Regions from separate parts of the Homo sapiens genome. Here all the other regions are linked to region 2. The links are contacts of gene promoters, found by promoter capture Hi-C in blood cells and fetal thymus (Javierre and others, 2016). All regions are on one chromosome and are shown on one strand. Each heading gives the region's core, a stretch centred on a gene start or on the middle of the fragment in contact. The rest is flanking DNA. Distances are from core to core; before and after follow the strand shown. Region 1 overlaps BAZ2A (bromodomain adjacent to zinc finger domain 2A). Region 2 holds the start of SPRYD4 (SPRY domain containing 4). Region 3 overlaps CNPY2 (canopy FGF signaling regulator 2).

Evidence for each region. Contacts are between HindIII fragments. The CHiCAGO score rates a contact against its expected background, and 5 or more counts as called.
Region 1: a fragment that was not itself captured here is called in contact with the fragment with the promoter of SPRYD4 in region 2 in 1 of 17 cell types (M1 macrophages); the score reaches 5.1 in M1 macrophages.
Region 3: a fragment that was not itself captured here is called in contact with the fragment with the promoter of SPRYD4 in region 2 in 3 of 17 cell types (total B cells, non-activated CD4 T cells and M1 macrophages); the score reaches 6.7 in total B cells.

The regions. Positions count from the first base shown.
Region 1 is chr12:56,609,698-56,612,871 of GRCh38, forward strand. It overlaps BAZ2A (bromodomain adjacent to zinc finger domain 2A), which reads right to left. Exons shown (of 29, transcript NM_001300905.2): 6 at 2,076-2,549; 7 at 1,876-1,936; 8 at 712-820; 9 at 417-518; 10 at 39-249. Among named protein-coding and RNA genes, the nearest start is that of BAZ2A, 19 kb to the right of the region's middle. The HindIII fragment of the contact is 1,811 bases long and covers 968-2,778 here.
Region 2 is chr12:56,467,214-56,470,564 of GRCh38, forward strand. It overlaps SPRYD4 (SPRY domain containing 4), which reads left to right and starts at 1,365. Exons shown (of 2, transcript NM_207344.4): 1 at 1,365-1,463; 2 at 1,826-3,351. The coding sequence starts at 1,379. The coding sequence ends at 2,364. RefSeq lists enhancers at 1,033-1,102, 1,113-1,292, 1,613-1,662, 2,083-2,212. The HindIII fragment of the contact is 12,495 bases long and covers 1-3,351 here.
Region 3 is chr12:56,307,116-56,310,632 of GRCh38, forward strand. CNPY2 (canopy FGF signaling regulator 2) reads right to left here. Exons shown (of 6, transcript NM_014255.7): 6 at 2,729-3,480. The coding sequence ends at 3,437. Among named protein-coding and RNA genes, the nearest start is that of CNPY2-AS1, 2.5 kb to the right of the region's middle. The HindIII fragment of the contact is 170 bases long and covers 1,451-1,620 here.

The DNA.
Region 1 (3,174 bases), core at 623-3,122, 140 kb after region 2:
GAGGGAGCAGAATCCCAAAGTAAGAAATACCACTGTACCTTGGGCCTCCAGTTTCTTTAGGGGGCGGTTGTCTGTCTTGTTCAATAGCTCAGTGATTTTGACCTTAGGTGGCCGACCTCGACCCCGTTTCACCTTGGGGACTTCCTTAGTCTTAGCCTTCTCAGTGTTTCGAGGTCGACCCCGTTTGCCAGTAATTGCCTGAATCCTCGACGGGATCTCCTCTGCTGAGAGCTGCACCCACTGCAAGCCCTAAGGTAGCAAGGGAGACTGTTACAGTAGTAAGGAATCAGTGCAGGCCACGAGGCCCTCGGAACCATTCAATGCCCCAGAACCTTCAAACCCCACGAGAGGAAGCTGCAGCTTGTCCACCAACTCTTCCTCAGGGACAAAAGCATATTTAACCCTTGGGTCTGCACCTCTGGCGTGTCTCTTTCTTCAAAGAAATCTCCAACAGGCATACGGGGACTGAAGCTGAAGTGCTCTCGGCGGACACTGTGTACCACGTTGCGGCTCAGGTACTAAGAGGAAGAAGTAAAGTAACATTAATAAAGTTGGATCCTACCATGTCTTTGGCCAGCAAAGGCATAAGCAGAACAGGCCCAGAGCAGACAATGCCAGCCTGTTGTCACTGAGCCCAAGAACGGAGTCTTGGGCAGTGGAAAGGAGTCCACTGAGCCCAAGAAAGCAGTCCTTTAAAAAAAGCTACATTACCTTGATCACTTCTGGAAATTGCTTCATCCTCTTCCCACAGGGGCCATAATACCAGGTCTCCCCCTGCCATCGGTGGCTGCCCTTCTTGATGCGCACCTCTCTCCGCCACCTGCCAGAGAAGCACATGGGCCCTGCCGCCAGGTCACACCCCTACCCACTCCCATGCCACCTAAGCGCGAAGCCCTCTGAGCAGATGGCCCTCCCCACATTTGTATCTCTAGAACTGCATGCAGATGCAAAAGCACCAAGAGAGATAAGCTTGGCTAGAAGGCTGACTTGAGCTCCAGCAAATACATCAAGGCCCTTAGGAGAAAAGCACTACACCAAACTGCACAAGCTCAGAGAGATCTCCATCCCTCCTTTACAAAATCAGTGAGATAAGCTGCCAGAAACCCCTCCCTGAGCCATTCAGGGCAGTTACTGGATTTCCAGTAAAGAGGATAAAGACCTAAGGGGAATAAAGACAGAAGACAAAGGGCAGGGAGGCAAGCAGAAAAATAAATTTGCTGCTGATTCCATGAAAAGACTCAATATGCCAGGGTTTAGTTAGGAACTCTGTGTTCTGAGCAGAACACAAAGTTAGTCAGAGTTAGTTCTAAGACTAACTCTAATCTTTCTCTCAAAATTTTAAGCAGTACTCAGACTTGGTGACCACAAGTAGCCTTGAGGGGCAGGGGTGGGGAAGATCCAGGAAGGCAGTTATTTCCACAAGGCCCTGGTGTCAGCTAGTTTGTTCATTTTGGTCATGTACTGTTCCTGCCCTTACCTCTCCTAAGAGCATTAAAACAACAAAACCACCTCAATTCATTAGTACTAAGTCACTCCTCATTCATTACTATCCCTTGTCCACAGAAATAGGACAAGCCAGCTGGTTTGGATGTGAGCCCTAGGGTTTGGAAAAGATAATAGCTGGAGCTCCTTGGGCAAAATTGAGTCACTACAAGATGAAAAAAGAATAGGTGATGGAAGACAGACCTTGAGAGAAGAAGGAAAACCTAGGAATCTCATGCCAAGAAACATTATCACTGCAGATAACTGTCCTGTAATCTACTCTTGTCTGGCCCATTCCTCCCCCACCTCAGAGGAAAAGAGGCATTCCCTTCTTTCTAGAGTTGTGCATTAAACTTGTCAAGGTCAATAAATGTAGCAAACTAGAGCATTTACCCATGTTGGAGGGGAAGACGAACTTCTTCTGGGGTAGCAATACGTCTCCTCATGACATCACCTTGGGAGGAAGGGATACCCAAGTTAAGAGTTCAAGCAAAATATTTAAACAATAGGCCAATAGGGAAAGGCTAACTACAACATGGGACAGAAAAGTTTCTTGGAACCAGACAGGGATAGAATAGAATCTGGATACTCACCACTACCAGAAGCAGTGAGTCCTTCTCCAGTGATCTCTTCCACGTCAGCAGTGGTTTCTAGAAAGCTGCTGACATCCTTATTTGCTGGGGAGGCTGTTGGAAAGGCAGCTGCTGGGGAAGTTACGGGAGAGGCTTTTGGGGATGTCACTGAAGCCGTCAACGGGACTTCTAAGGAGACTGCTGGGAGGACTGCTGAGGAAGCTGGAGAGACCACTGAGAAGACTGCTGGAGAGACAACTGTAGAAGCTGCGGGACAAACTTCTGGAGAGATTTCTGGGGAGGCTGCTGGAGAAACCACTAGGGAGACTGCTGGGGAGGTTGTTGGCGAGACTGCTGGTGAGGTTGCTGGATGTAGCTGAATAGTGGATGACTGATCAGGAGCTGGCTGGGTCAGGGATGGTGGGAAGTCTGAAGATTGAGTTTCCATTTCTTCCTGTTCAGCGTCACTACCATTATTCAGGTCAAAGCTGTTATCTAGAATCCAAAGGGACAGGATAGGCTTTAAAAAAAAAAAAGGCATCACATAAAACAAGAGAATCTACTCAGTCAACCCTGGACCAAGCTAAACAGGGTTACTTCAAGGGGTCTTCCCTAGGGTTGGAAAAAGAAGTAGCTTTTTCTCCCAACCAATCATGAGGATTAAAGGGTAAAGTTGCTACAGATGTCATTGTGTGAAGAAATACCTTTTACCTGGTGCCAATAAAGCTTCTAGCCTCCTTCTCCCTACAAATTCCAAGTCTCACAAGTTCTTCAAAGCAGAGGGCACAGGTCGGAGTATAGCAGCCTATACCTCTTTTAGTTCCACCATACACTATCCCATAGCCCCTCAGCTCCCAGCAAGGTGCTCTTGCTTTCCTACTTTTTTTTTGAGATGGAGTCTTGCTCTGTTGCCCAGGTTGGAGTGCAACGACACAATCTCGGCTCACTGCAACCTCTGCCTCCTGGGGCCAAGCGATTCTCCTGCCTCAGCCTCCCAGGTAGCTGGGATTACAGGCATGTGCCAACACACCTGGCTAATTTTTGTATTTTTAGTAGAGGCGGGGTTTCACCATGTTGGCCAGGTGGTCTCAAACTCCTGATCTCAGGTGATCCACCCGCC
Region 2 (3,351 bases), core at 115-2,614:
GAATATACATTTTAAAAATATATATCTAAAATCCTTTTTTGAGGGGTAGGAGGATGGAGGTGGGATGTATGTTGCTATTGCACTGGCCAGCAGAACCTTGAGAAGTGGACTGATTAAAAAAATGTAGGCCTGGCATAGTGGCTAACACCTGTAATCACAGCACTTTGGGAGGCAAAGGTGGGAGGATGGCTTGAGCCCGAGAATTCGAGAACAACTTGGTCAACAAAGCGAAACCCCCGTTTCTACAAAAAAGTTAACGGGGCATGGTGCGTGCACATGTGGTCCCAGCTACATGGGAGGCTGAAGCAGGAAGATCGCTTGTGCCTCGGAGATGAAGGTTGCAGTGAGCTGTGTTTGCGCCACTGTGCTGCATGCAGCCTGGGTGACAGAATGAGACCCTGTCTCAAAAAATAAAATAAAATGGAATGCAGATCGAAATGTTCAATATAGGCTGTCCATAATCTCCTACCTCATACCCTGAACCAAAATATTGCTACTCTTGGTTAAGTTCAGAAAACTGAATGCTGAGTTAAACCATCCGTTCCTAGCCTTGAACATACAAAACCAACATTAACAGTATTTATGTATTTACTATTAATTATAAACAACTGTGAATTACCCAATGGTTGCTATTTGCCAATATATATCTAGATTAATTATTATTATTTTTTGAGATGGAGTCTTGCTCTGTCACCAGGCTGGAGTGCAGTGGCAGAATCTCGGCTCACTGCAACCTCCCACTCCCTGGTTCAAGCGATTCTCCTGCCTCAGCCTCCCGGGTAGCTGGGATTACAGGCGCGCGCCACCACGCCCGGCTAATTTTTGTACTTTTGGTAGAGGCGGGGTTTCACCATATTGGCCAGGATGGTCTTGATCTCCTGACCTCGTGATCCGCCTGCCTCGGCCTCCCAAAGTGCTGAGATTGCAGGCGTGAGCCACCGCGCCCGGCCTAGATTATTCTCACTTAATTATTACTAAGGTCTGTATATAATTTCTATTTTATAAATTAGAACACTAAGGCTCAGAAAAGTGGAGTGAGTTGCCCAAACTCACACAGTGAAGCCGGGATCAAAGCTAATTACAGTACTGTCTAATTTTAAAATCTATACTTCTAAGCATCTGGCTACACTATATCTCTAAAAGTTTTACGTAGTTCAAATGTGAGCAGCGTTCGTCTACGCAGAAAAACTGAATAAGCAGCATTAACCGCGGGCAGAAACAGAACAGAAACCACTACCTTGGCGGCCGCCCGCCCCCGGGCGTCGCCTACGTCATAACACTGCGCGGCCGCCCCTCGCGCACCACGTGCTAGGGGAGCGGGCGGGCAGATGGCTGTGTCTGTAAGCGGGAGGCGTGCCCGGTTCATCCAAGGCGCAAGATGGCGCTGCTTTTTGCACGTTCTTTGCGCTTGTGCCGCTGGGGAGCCAAACGATTGGGAGTTGCCTCCACAGAGGCCCAGAGAGGTAGGATTATCTCTTTTTACTCTTTTACCTCCAGAATGGCTGCCGTCTATTATTCCCAGACCCCACTCCGAGAAGCAACTCCAACCCTCTCGGGTCTTTTCCTTCCCCACCTGCCTTGGTCTTAAGATTCCAAACCTGTGATACCATTTGGTTTCTTTAAATTCCGGGACTTACTCAATCCGAGTTTTTCAGCTCCGTGAGCTATCCGTAGTAAAGCGACCTCGCGACTCTCTTGCCCGCTTGGCATTCTGACTCTTCCCTAGTTGCTCGTGTATCATGGCTGCCTGCCTCATATCTGAATATATCACCAGCCCTAGGGTTCTAGCCCCTGTTATTATCCCGTCTTTTTGCTCTGCCCGCAGGCGTCAGTTTCAAACTGGAAGAAAAAACCGCCCACAGCAGCCTGGCACTCTTCAGAGATGATACGGGTGTCAAATATGGCTTGGTGGGATTGGAGCCCACCAAGGTGGCCTTGAATGTGGAGCGCTTCCGGGAGTGGGCAGTGGTGCTGGCAGACACAGCGGTCACCAGTGGCAGACACTACTGGGAAGTGACAGTGAAGCGCTCCCAGCAGTTCCGGATAGGAGTGGCAGATGTGGACATGTCCCGGGATAGCTGCATTGGTGTTGATGATCGTTCCTGGGTGTTCACCTATGCCCAGCGCAAGTGGTACACCATGTTGGCCAACGAGAAAGCCCCAGTTGAGGGTATTGGGCAGCCAGAGAAGGTGGGGCTGTTGCTGGAGTATGAGGCCCAGAAGCTGAGCCTGGTGGATGTGAGCCAGGTCTCTGTGGTTCACACGCTACAGACAGATTTCCGGGGTCCAGTGGTGCCTGCCTTTGCTCTCTGGGATGGGGAGCTGCTGACCCATTCAGGGCTTGAGGTGCCCGAGGGCCTCTAGTATGTCCATTACTGGAGTCCCTAATCACGCCTTTGGCCAGCCTCCTTTTGAAAGTGTCCGAAGCCTTTTTACTTTGCCTCAAGCAACCTCTAGCTCCCACAATTCAGTGTTGGGTCCTCTGTGCAATATCATGATCATCTTCCTCATCCCCTACCTTGTGAAAGCTAGGCATACAGCCAAACCCTCCTTTTCCCCACCCACCAACTACTGCCAATTTCCTAGGCTACCATGGGTGTATCTTCCTTGACCTGCTTCCTTCAGTCCCTCTGCCTCCCTTTGCCCAGGCCTTTCTCAGACTGTATTCCATCCTGGGGTCTTATCATTCAGCTTTGTTTGAATTTATTAATCACCATGATACCTCTCCCTCCCTTTGTCCACATGTAACTTGTTCTTGGGGCTCTACCAGATGGCTGAAGAGTAAATCCTTTCTACCTCTGGCTGAAGGAGTGGTGCAGTCAATGACTTGGCCCTTTTTCTACAGCACATTTAGAGTTTGGGCTCTGGCTCCCTCAGTAAGTGCTTTATTAACTCAGTGTGTCAAAATGAAAACAGAGCCCTCCTTCCCCAGTAGCTCAGTGCCACAGACCTTCAGCCCCACACAGCTGTAGCTATCCTTACCCTGAGTCCATCTACCTTAAATCTGTACCTCTGACACCCAGCCAGTCTGTCATAATCATTATCCCAGTTATAACCTTGACCAAAGGGGAAGAGAGACACTTGGGGGATATCTAGGGGATGAGTGCTAGAAACTATTTATTTATTTTTGAGACAGAGTCTCACTCTGTCACCCAGGCTGGAGTGCAGTGGCATGATCTTGGCTCACTGCAAACTCTGCCTTTTGGGTTCAAGCGACTCTCGTGCCTCAGCCTCCTGAGTAGCTAGGATTACAGGTGTGTGCCACCATGCCCGTCTCATTTTTATATTTTTAGTAGAGATGGGGTTTTGCCATATTGGCCAGGCTGGTCTCGAACTCCTGGCCTCATGTGA
Region 3 (3,517 bases), core at 286-2,785, 160 kb before region 2:
TTCCTGTTATATCTGTACCTCATTTAACACTGTCTTCGGAAATGTTTGTTAAGTTCTAACATTTTACTGATAAACTAAGTTAGAAGGCATCTGAAGCTTGATCAGATTTACAAGGTTAAGAGCATATGCTCTACCAAATACTGGGCTATAATTTATTATAATGAACCTCCAGAGGGTTCAGATAAATTCATGCATTCCTTGTGATATGAATTAAAACATGTGCAAAGCCAGGCATGGTGGTGCTTGCCTGTAATCCTAGAAACTCAGGAGGCCAAGGCAGGAGGATTGCTTGAAGCCAGGAGTTAGAGGCTGCAATGAGTTATGATCATGCCATTTCACTCCAGCCTGGGCAACAGAGCAAGACCCCTGTCTCGCTAAGATAGTAATAATAATAATGATAATAATAAAAAAAATAAGAGGTTTACAAAGTGTATCTTCCTGCTGGGCACGGTGGCTCACGCCTGTAATCCCAACACTTTGGGAGGCTGAGGCAGGCGGGTTACTTGAAGCCAGGAGTTTGAGACCAGCCTGGCCAACATGGTGAAACACTGTCTCTACAAAAAACTCAAAAATTAGCTGGGCATGATGGCACATGCTTGTAATCCCAGCTACTTGGGAGGCTGAGTCAGGAAAATCACTTGAACCAGGAGGTGGAGGTTGCAGTAAGCCGAGATTGCACCACTGCACTTCAGCCTGGGCGACAGAGCGAGACTCTCCCTCAGGAAAAAAAAAACAAAAAACAAAAAAACCCCACAAAGTGTATCCTTAATCAAGCCTAGAAGGTAACATCCACCCTTTCCTATATAGGACATATCCTTTGTGTACCAATGACAAAGTCTCTCCAGCTGGAGAGTTCTTAACAGCTGTACTTTGACAAACCAGAAAGGTGCATCACAAGTAACTTGTTACTGATTAACATTAAATTTATTTATTTAAAACTATGAATAATTTGTTTTCTAAATTAAAACAGTTTTAAGTTTCCAGAAGAGAACTCTCTTTATTGTATTTGAGACAGGGTCTCACTCTGTTGCCTAGGCTAGAGTGCAGTAGTGCAATCACAGCTCAGTGCAGCCTCAGCCTCCTGGGTTCGAGAGATCTTGCCACCTTGGCCTCCAGAGTCGCTGGAACCACAGGTGCACACCATTATGCCGGCTAATTTTTGTATTTTTTGTAGCAATGGGGTCTCACTATATTGCCTAGGCTGGTCTCAAACTCCTGGACTCGAGTGATCATGATCCTTCCACCTTGGCCTCCCAAAGTGTTGGGATTATGGGCACGAGCCACCGCATTTGGCTTGAAGAGTACTCTCATTTATACTTCTGATAAGCTTTCTGATGGAAAAGAAAGGCATTTTTAGGCACGAAGCACGAAATGGACAGCACCTTGGGTATACTTTCAGGGACATGAAAAAATGTAATTATTACTTATATGCATCATAGAAGAAAAAATAAGCTTTATAATAGTTGGTTTGGAAAACTAGAGCGAACACAGCATTTCTTATGGATGATGGGAGAAGATGGAATTAACACCAGGCTGATATTAGTTGACAACAAATATCAGAGTGCTTGCTCTGTGCTCTAGTTAATTTGTCAGATTTCACAGGGATTTTTGGTACAAGAAAGCTTTGTGGAATATATGCATTCTATGCGCCAGGCTTAGTGCAAGGTATTATTAGAGAAAAAAGACTTAAAATAGAAGGTACTCTATAGCTATATTAGATCAGGTCAGCACTTGGGAAAGTTAGCTTATAGACCCAGTTTTGCCATTAAATACAGAACTTCATAAAGTTCTATGGCTTCTCTGGGCCTCAGCTTCTTCATCAATAAAATGGGCAGAGGTGAACCAGACGACCTCTAAGGTTCCTTTAGATTCTAAAATGATGTAATTTTTAAAACCTTTGAAATGTTTATTCAGGTCTTCTCTCCTTGAGGTGTTCTTGGGACCGGAGATATTCCATTTGAAACCCTGAGACAACCATACCTCAAGCTCAGAGTGCTTAAGAATTTTCTGCCAGGTGCGGTGGCTCACACCAGTAATCCCAGCATTTGGGGAGGCCAAGGCGGGCGGATCATGAGGTCAGGAGATCGAGACCATCCTGGCTAACACGGTGAAACCCTGCCTCTACTAAAAATACAAAAAAATTAGCCAGTGCAGGCCGGGCGCGGTGGCTCACGCCTGTAATCCCAGCAGTTTGGGAGGCCAAGGCGGGCGGATCACGAAGTCAGGAGATCGAGACCATCCTGGCTAACATGGTGAAACCCCGTCTCTACTAAAAATACAAAAAATTAGCCGGGCGTGGTGGCGGGTGCCTATAGTCCCAGCTACTTGGGAGGCTGAGGCAGGAGAATGGTGTGAACCCGGGAGGCGAAGCTTGCAGTAAGCCGAGATCGCGCCACTGTACTCCAGCCTGGGCGATAGAGCGAGACTCTGTCTCACAAAAAAAAAAAAAAAAAAATTAGCCGGTGTGGTGGCGGGCGCCTGTAGTCCCAGCTACTCGGGAGGCTGAGTCAGGATAATGGCGTGAACCTGGGAGGCAGAGCTTGTAGTGAGCCGAGATCGCGCCACTGTACTCCAGCCTAGGCGACAGAGCGGGACTCCATCTCAGAAAAAAAAAGAAAAAAAGAATTTCCCAAAAGAAGGTATCCTTTAGGTTTTCATCCCTATGCCCCAGTCTGGAATCTCTACACACAGAATTGTGGACAGACTTATAGTCCAGATTGACAATGGCTAGTGATAGATACACTTTATTGTTGCCACTGGCATCAAATTTAAAAGCTTAGGCTGGCAAGCAAGGCCTCTCATTAAACAACCTTCCTTACCTCGTCTGTCCCTATCCGATAAAGCCCTTACTTTTCAGCTGAGTTGGTCACATCCATTTTCCCCTTCCTGTCTCTGTTCTTGCTGGTCCCTCCATCTGGATGGGCAGGGAAGGAAGAATAATGCATATCCGTTATTTCCTTCAAGACCAAGCCCTGTCTTACTTTATGTTTCAACAGCCATGAACACAAGGGATTTCTAGAATTCTACACTACCATACACTATGTTCCCCTGCTTCCTCATGGAGGTTCCTCTATTCTCCACAATTAGACTCTAAAGACGTGGTATTGAGTGGGCACTGACTGAAAGCTTATCTAGTTTATGAGTGGAGTGGAATCTCAGAAGGTAGAAGAATTAAAGGTTCAGGCCTCTCCTACCTTTATCCTGTATCAATCCCAAAACTCTTCTTTCTCCTCCATTATCTTTCCTGTCTATATAACTCCTTATCTTCAAGCTTAATGTAAGGGCAATTCCAGGCATGAAAAGACAACACAGTTTGTACTTTTGGTTTCATATTTTTTCAGTTAATTTCAGTAAAAACATAATATATAAAAGGCATTGCCACCATTTTCCCCTCCTGGGGGTGATCCATCAAGCCAGTGTGGGCTGCTCCAGTGGTTCATAGCTCATCATGCGATATGTGCAGGGCATGGTCACAAAGATCTGCAAATGGCAAACAATTTAAAGGAATATGCCATTC